Regions from separate parts of the Homo sapiens genome. Here region 2 is linked to region 1. The links are contacts of gene promoters, found by promoter capture Hi-C in human tissues and cell types (Jung and others, 2019). All regions are on one chromosome and are shown on one strand. The core of a region is centred on a gene start or on the middle of the fragment in contact, and the rest is flanking DNA. Distances in the headings are between cores, read along the strand shown. Region 1 holds the start of SLC7A2 (solute carrier family 7 member 2). Region 2 holds the start of LOC124901892 (endogenous retrovirus group K member 25 Env polyprotein-like).

Evidence for each region. Contacts are between HindIII fragments. The study calls those that stand out against the background at their distance.
Region 2: a contact is called between a fragment that was not itself captured here and the fragment with the promoter of SLC7A2 in region 1, in 2 of the 25 tissues and cell types used here (aorta and heart left ventricle).

Annotation. Positions count from the first base shown.
Region 1 is chr8:17,495,338-17,499,622 of GRCh38, forward strand. SLC7A2 (solute carrier family 7 member 2) reads left to right here and starts at 1,751. Exons shown (of 13, transcript NM_001370338.1): 1 at 1,751-1,900. The HindIII fragment of the contact is 11,749 bases long and covers 1-4,285 here.
Region 2 is chr8:17,913,914-17,918,198 of GRCh38, forward strand. It overlaps LOC124901892 (endogenous retrovirus group K member 25 Env polyprotein-like), which reads right to left and starts at 2,074. Exons shown (of 1, transcript XM_047422511.1): 1 at 1-2,074. The HindIII fragment of the contact is 3,187 bases long and covers 468-3,654 here.

The DNA of each region.
Region 1 (4,285 bases), core at 501-3,000:
AACGCCTCCTAGCCGTGGGATTGAGGAGGAATCTGGTGTTAAAAGTCCACACGCATCATTTCCCTTAATGTTATTAATGATAATTTGCATAAGGAATCTTTTTTTGACTGTAAAAATAAGTTTACTTTGACAGTCTCTATTACTTAAGACATTTGGTCTATCAGATAATATCTTCGTAATCATAGTGCTGTTTAAACTTTCAGTTTTTTTGTTCGTTTGCTTTTGTTTTTGAGACGGAATCTCACTCTGTCGCCCAGGCTGGACTGTAGTGGCACTATCTCGGCTCACTGCAACCTCCGCCTCCTGGGCTCAAGCGATTCTCCTGCCTCAACCTCCCGAGTAGCTGGGGTTACAGGCGCCCGCCGCCGCGCCCGGCTAATTTTTGTATTTTTAGTAGAGACGGAGTTTCACCCTGTTGGCCAGACTGGTCTCGAACTCCTGACCTCAGGTGATCGGCGCGCCTCGGCGTCCCAAAGTGCTGGGATTACAGGCGTGAGCCACCACCCCCAGCCTACACTTTCACTTTTTGATGAAATCCATGGATGGCTTCCTGAGATACATTGAGATTTTGTGTGTGTGCTATCTTCTGGAATGAAGCCCCACACCGTTTATTAGATGATCTTGGGGATATATGTCTTGAAGGGAAGAATGATTTAGAATATCACATTAAAATTGTATATGTACTGTGAGGCAGCAATACAAATCTGGCACTTTGCCAAAGTTATTACTAGTAGGTGGGTTAAAGGGACGTTTACTCCAATACTATGCAAAGTAAAGTGGACCTTTCTGTCAAACAAAAATAGTAATAGGCCGGGCATGGTGGCTCAAGCCTGTAATTCTCAGCCTGGTGGCTCAAGCCTGTAGTTGTCAGCACTTTGGGAGGCTGAGGCGGGAGGATAGCTTGAGCCCAGGAGGTCGAGGCTGCAGTGAGCCACGATTGTGTCACTGCCCTCCAGCCTGGGCGACAGAGTGAGACCCTGTCTCTAAAGACAAACCACACACACATATACACACACACACTGACACACACTTATTGTTCAATTCAGTGCGTGTTTTGCTTCGTTTTGGATGAAAATTAACAGGCTTTCACATTGTGACTTAATCTTATCAGAGACTCCTAAAGTAAACAATAGCGCAGTAGGAGAAACCCTGATTGTGTAACTTCTGCTCTTGCTCCCCTGGAAATAATGTCATTTCCTATAAACCCACCCCCAAACAATCGTGACTACGTATTCATACCACTGGAGTCTTCCAAAATAGCAACTGCACATTATTTATCAACGTTTAGTTTGCATTTGACAAAGCACATCCACCTGGGCTTCCATTTATCATTGCTATTATTATATTTTATTATTATTTTCTTATTTCCAAAATCTTTGTAGAATGGAAAGTAAACGGGGGGACCAAAACCCCACTTAGAACTCTGCTTAGAAGATTCGGAAATGCCCTTGAGGTTTGGTCCTCCCAGGAGAGCACGAAGTTTATCCTCGCGCGCAGCCTCTCTTCCCCGGCCCGCGCCCACCGGCCTAGCCCGGGGCTAGCGCCCGCCCACGTGTGCTCGGCTCCAGGCAAACCCCGCTGAGCAGCGGCCGCACACCGCCCACCCCGGGGATTGGTCAGCGCGGCCGGGGCCCGGCGGGAGGCGGGCTCGGGGTCGCGTTCCGGGAGCGCGGAGGAGGCGGTGCCGCCCGGCCCCGCGCCCCGCCCCCGCCCCGGGTGGCTACACAGAGGGGCGCCCACGTGCCCAGCCCTCCTTCTGCAGCGCGGCCGGCGGGCGCTCCTCTTCGCGGGACCAGCGAGGCGGCGGCCGCTGCTCCAGCGTCCCCCAGCCGCGGGCCCCCGACGCGCTGCAGCCGGCAGCCCACCGCCGCCTTCTTGGCGCGACCCCAACCCAGCCCCAGTAAGTTGCTAGGTCTCCAGCCCCGCCGAGAGGCCGCGGGCGAGGGGCAGCCCGGACGCTGGGGCCGGCGGGGAAGGAGCGGGGCGAGGGCGCCCTGGGGCCGGCGGGGAACTAGAGGGTCGAGGGCTCCCGGGGACGAGTCCAGCTGCGCGCAGCTGCCCTGAGGCCGCGCTCCAGCGAGTCTTCGTCAGGGAGTCGGGGCCGTGGGCTGGGGCTGAAGCCGTGGACCTTCGTCCTCGGGGCTGCGCCCCGGAATGCGCCTCGCCTCGTCCGGTCCCTGTGCAGCCGGCTCTGCCCGGGGACTTCGGGGACCGCTGGAACTGGGAGAGGGGCTGGCACGGCGACTTCGCGGGGACCCTTCAGTCACTATTTCCAGAGGAGCTCGGCGCACCCCTCTCCGGGTGGGCAGGCTGAACCTCCTGGCCCTGCACGCTGCCGGGGTCCCCGAAGCCGCCTTCGCTCCTTTTCGGTTCTTGGCTTAAATTAGAAAGCCGGCTTGGAGCGCTGGAAGCCCCTTCACATTCTGCAGGGGACCTGGTAAAATAGCCCGTCTTGGTGTTTGTATTGGGTATTTTAAAGTAACTGGGTGCCTTTTAAAATCCGTTTGAGATGGGCTGTATTTTATAAGCCCGTTTCATGAAACGCTGTTCTTGAGGCTTAGAGAATCTCCCAACCCATCACCCCAGAGTACCTGTCCGTTCAGAAAGTACCTTTTCATCCTCTTTTGACGCTTACATCCAGTCTATGGAGTAAGGTATTGAGAGATTGTCATCTTCAACTCGTCGAAAAGAAATATGCTCAGCAAAAGCCACAATCATATGTGGCTTTTGAAGTGGATATAGTGCCTGGATTTCAAGAGAAAAAGTACTCAGCCTCTTCAGAGTTGTAAATATTTGTGCAAAACTGGCTAAAGCCTTTAGGTGACTAATTTTGGACCAGTAATAAGATTTATCTAGACGTTTGTGCAGAAACACTAATCCTTTTAATGAGAGGATATCGTCAGATCTTATTCAAATAAGAGCTCTCTGAATCCCATCCAGGGCCGCCTGGGTTATAAAATTAGAATGTATGTGGCCTTGACTTGATACTTTTTCATTCTTGCCTGAGCTAGTCTTTAAAAGTTAATAATTATCTCCTCCGGAAGGTGAAACATTCTGTGTTTGTAATCTTTCTCTAGGAGATGTATAAGATGTGAATATTCTGTATTATGTACCTTGTTAGGATTGCTTTGTAATTAGTAAATCCTTTTTTATTTTAATTGCACTGAAGCGTGACATGAAATGATCTCTCAGTGCAGAACACAGGACTTCTTCCCTCTCCTTTTCCTACAAAGTTGCTAGTTGCCTGCTCTGGGAGGCCACTTTATTGTGATTTTTCAAGTTTCTTCCCTCGGCCCACACTTTGTTTACATTCTGTGCCTTCATCTGGGAATGGTCATTTACCTTAAGGCATTTTAATCTTTTAGGGTGTGCCATGGCCTTGGAGACCAGAGTAAAGCGCTGTGGTATCTGCGGGGATCAGTTTGCAGAATCCTTGGCCTCCTAAGCAGTGGGCATAGCTCTTTTCATTCCAGAATCTCTGATCATTCCAGAGTCTCTCCTGTCACTGGGCTTAGGAGCCTGGGAAGGCGAATAGAAGCTAGCTGGGGAGACAGGGGAGCTGTGGCAGTTTAAAAAGCCTGATCTTGCGCTGGAGTTTTTCATCTTGCATTCTCATGTATCTTTGCCTTTTGAACACATGTGCCTGAAGAATTTTAAAGTTCACGTTTCTTGCTTTGCACTGCAAGCACACTCACCTTTGCAGAGTGGAAGTGCCTTGTCCCCATTCTAGGTGGTCTACCTTCTGTTCTCTTTTCAGACCTCCTGGCTTAAGCCCTTGTTTCTCCTGGCTGTTATGGCCAGACCCGGAGTCCCCGTTGTGCCCATTTCTTCTCTTTTCAGTCCTTCCTTTTCAAATGTTTTTTCCCAGAAGTCCTCTGGCAACTTCTCTATTTCACCTAGCCTCTGTCTTCTCTTGTTTTATTTTTCCCTCTCTCCCTCCCTCTCTATCCCTCTTTCCCCCTCTTTCCCTCCTTCTCCCTCCTTTCTCTCTTCCTCTCTCTCTGTCTCTCTCTCTCTCTCCCCCTCTCTCCCTCATTTCTCTCTCCCTCTCTCTGTCCCTCTTCCCTCCATTCTCTCTCCCCCCTTCTCTCTCTGTGTGTTCAGAGCCATCTGCTGGTTTTACTTTGGTGCCCTTTGGTGGACAACTTTCAGAACAGAATCTTGGGAGCACCTTCATGTTGCTGTTTGCTTTATTTCCCCCAAACATGTAGATATGAACACACTGATTTTAAAGACTCTTATAGACTACCTACTAGATGCCAAACATTTAGAACAAAAGCAAAAG
Region 2 (4,285 bases), core at 811-3,310, 420 kb after region 1:
GCTGGAGAGGGAATGCCCCAGTTTGGAGTGGGGCCTGAGGCTGGCCCCTCTTCCCATTTCCCAATTGCGCCTGCAAGGGTTGGCCATTTTCATCAAATTTGGAGTGACACCGTTTAGCCCAACATTTACCCTTCTGGCACCTGGGACATAAGCCAGGTGGCTCCTTTGTTTGATTAGATCTGGATTGTTTGTTTGATTTGTTCTTATATTCCTTTTTTGTATTTCCAAATTGCCCACAGTTATAACAATTGCCTGAAAAGTTTTTCACTGGATCTCCCACCTTTGATCCTGCCATGTTTTGAGCCATTATCATAGCCTTATGCATGATTCCACCAATCTATCACATGCCCTGATATACTCATTGATTACATCAACTCCCACCAGAACCTTTCCTTTCACAGAGCGAATAGGTGATTGACAGTCAGGGTTGGCATTTTCATAAGCCAAGAATTCTATAATCACCTTCCTGGCACTTTCATCAGTGAGAGCCTTCTGAGCTGCATCTTGAAGAGGAGCAATAAAATCAGGATACGGTTCTTTTGAGCCTTGTCTGACAGAATTAAAAGAGGGATAAGTAGTTCCCGGGTCCTGAATTTTTTCCCATGCCCTCAAGCAACAATTGCGAATTTGCTCAACGGCATCATCCTGAAGCACTAATTGTTGTACAGTTCCTCATTGGCCCCCAACTCCCAACAGTTGTTCAAGTGAAATGGCAACAACAGGATTAGCAGCACGGTTTTTTTGATCTTGATTTTGAGCCTCATCGGTCCACCAACTTTTAAATTGAAGAAATTGGGAGGGCGAAAGAGTAGCTTTTGCTAAAATCTCCCAATCGTCCGGGGCCAATCGCTTGTCCTGAGTTACTGAGTGTAATAGTGACTGGACAGAAGGCGAATTGGGACCTTACTGACCAACAGCTGCTTTGAGATCTTTAAGCAGCTTAAAAGAAAATGGTTCCCATACCGCCTGATGGGCACCACCCTGCTGCTGTGGGAGTTCCAAAACTACTGGAAACTGCCAGGCATCGGGATCTCCAGCTAACCTAGCCTGCCGAATAACCATTTGAAATGGTGATTCATTGACATTAGGTGGCAGTGCAGCCCTATGCTGTACTGGTGCTGCAAAACGTGTTCTTGATTCCTGAGCCCCTAATTTATCCATTCGTGAAACAGGGCAAATTGGAGATTCAAACCTCCAAGGCTCCAGGTTACGTTGCCTTATTGGAGGTGGCCACTCCGGATGATCCCAATGAGGAGCCAAAGATTCCTCAAGGCCCTTCTTTGTTTTAAACATATTGGCATAAATAGCTTCTCTATTTTAGGAGCAGCTGGAGGTCCCACATGCTCCTCAAAAGAAATTAAGTCATCTCCAGGTTTGTCTGTACTTTCCTCAAAATCTTCTTCACTATCCTCTCCTCCTTCAACTTCCTTTATATTTATATTGGCGGCAGCACCGCCTTCCTCCGCTGGAATTCTTTCTGCCGGAGGATAAACCTCGTTTTCCATTTGAAACGGTTCCAAGGCTGCTTTAACCATAGCCCAGTCTGACCAGACCGTTAGAAGAATAAGTTTTCCTTCCTTATGAACTTGTTTTAAGGCAATTCCAACCTGCTCCCAATCTTTTAAATCCATGGTACCTTATTCAGGAAACCAAGGGCAATACTGCTCTACTGTTTGAAACAGAGTAATCAAGTTTTCTGTGCTAGCCTTTATTACCCCCCTCTTTAAGAGGAGTTTGATAAAGTGTAAGTAAGCAGAGTGCTTACTTCCCGATTGTCCCATGGTGTCCCTGGAATACTCCGAGCACACAAGCTTACCGCAAGGCCGACCACACGTTCTTGGGAGTCCCTCGACAGACTGGTCTCCGCAATGACCATGCTCAGGTGTAACTCCACCTGGGTACAAGGAGCCCACACTGGGTGCCAAAGATGTAGGGGAACCAGCCCGCTACACCACATGCGTGTTCTCCCCTTCCCGGTGGAAATGAAGGAATGAGAAAAGAAATAAAGACACAAAGTTCAAGAGTTAACAAAAGTGGGTCCAGGGTTCCATCACAACACGGAAACTGCGAAGGCCTTGAGCTCTGGATTCCACTGATGTTTATTGAGTACAATTCCTTTGATCCTATGGGCTGAGGGTGGGCAGATGGTTGGGTGATCATAGAGTGACCATGGGGAGAGGTGGCAGAGGGGCTTAACAGAACAGGATGTGAAAGCAGATAGCCCGTCAGACCACAGGCCTGTGCATCAAAGGAGTGGTCCACTCCAAGCACCATCAGCAGAGCAGCAGAGCTCTCCGCCTCTGGGAACGAGCGAGAGATAGAAGACTTCCTCCTCATCTCTACCGCAGAGGACTTCTCCTCTTTTACAAGCAGCCTCCTGCTGTTCCCTTCTGGGGAATGGAGCAGGGGTCGCTTCCCTTCCCACGAGACCTTTGTTCAGGGACTCAAGTGGGAGGTTGAGCAATAAGCAAGCTTTCTTGCTTAGAGGCTCCGCACACTTCCTGCGGTTGTTTGTTCCACTCTGTGGTCAGTCAAGCAAGCTCACCGCCTGATTCTTATATTGTTGGACTAAGCACAAGCTATTCTTATGATTCATGACTATATTAATAAAGCACTATTCTAAAGCATATATTGTTAATCCTTAAACAGGCACACTGTACGCTGGCCCTCGACTACCTCGGCCCACATCCAAGCCCCTGTTTTGACCCACAAACCTCTCCTCTATACCAGTGTGTTTCACCCGCTATCAGAGTTTTACTTGTTTCCTTATCTAGATTGGGGAGAGTCTTGGATAGACCGGCCTGCCATCCAACGTCCTTGGTTTTTAGCCCTGGAAATTATTTAGTTCTTCTGGTAAGGAGAGGGCATTTTCTCTTACCTGGTTAATCTGAATTCACGTGTGTTTTGCTAGTTCTCCCCTGACTTTGGGATCTTTCTCATGGAAGGAGAAATGCAATGTGGAAGCCTTTTTACGGTAAAATAAAAAATTATAAGGCCAAGGTGGGTGGATCACAAGGTCAGGAGATCGAGACCACCCTGGCTAACACGTTGAAACTCCATCTCTGCTAAAAATACAAAAAATTAGCCAAGCGTGGTGGCGGGTGCCTGTAGTCCCAGCTACTTGGGAGGCTGAGGCAGGAGAATGGCTTGAACCCGGGAGGCGCAGGTTGTAGTGAGCTGAAATCGTGCCACTGCACTCCAGCGTGGGCGACAGAGCGAGACTCTGTCTCAAAAAAAAAAAAAATTATAATATATACAGCTGTAGCTTTCCTACATAATGCCGTGAATTTAACATGAATCATTGTAACCCCAATCATGCCACATACTCCTCTGCTAGTCCGTATGGATGCATATTACAAATCTAGTTGTCACCTGCAGATCTCTTTATTTCTGTGAATAAAAACTTATTTGACCCAGAAACCAACTTTTATAAAATCACTCCAGATTATTCCTTATAACCATGATAATTTTGAGTCCTTATTTCATATCATTTTGTTTTGATTAACAGCTTTTTTAAAGTGAAAGCTGAGGTTTAATTTTCATGCCTTTCTAACATTTTTCCTATGAATTAGGAAACAAAATCTGTATCAGCCCATATTTCCATATTTTTGGAACTCCCTCACCTAATTATCCAATTTTTCTACTTAATTACCAACATATATCTAGTTACATAGTTCTGGTTTAACTGTTTTGGTATAGTGCTGGTGGGAAACAAGGAAAAAGATGTGGATTATTTTCCTTGTAGTTTTAAAAAATGGTTACTCATATCTCTCCGTTTAAACCTCTCCAACTTGGTGTGTCTTGGGAAGGAAGCAATTTACTCAAGATTTTACTACATGATTGCAGCTTTGACCACATTTTCAGTGAATAGAGAAGATGACGTAAAAACATACATACAAGAAAAATACAGGAAGAATCATGTAGTAATCACAACTCTGTAGAAGTAAAGCCATGTGAAAACTGATGAAATGCAACTATAGATGAAATTGTCAGAATCACGAAGGTTACATCCATTAAATGAGTGATTTTTGAAAGAAAAGAACATAAATTGGTTATGAAGGAAGAGGCAGTTCAGACCGTTACAAACGTTAATATTGTATGTCGACGGCAGTAATTAGGTATTTTCAAATCTAATAATAAAGAATCAAAACTAGGCAGTAATGAGAGATGTTCTGATAATTAGATCTGGGGAAAACAGAGCAAAGTAAAAAGAGCCTTGAAACATTACTTACGCATGTGGATTTGATAGAATTCGTTGACATAATTATATAATGGCTGGTTGATT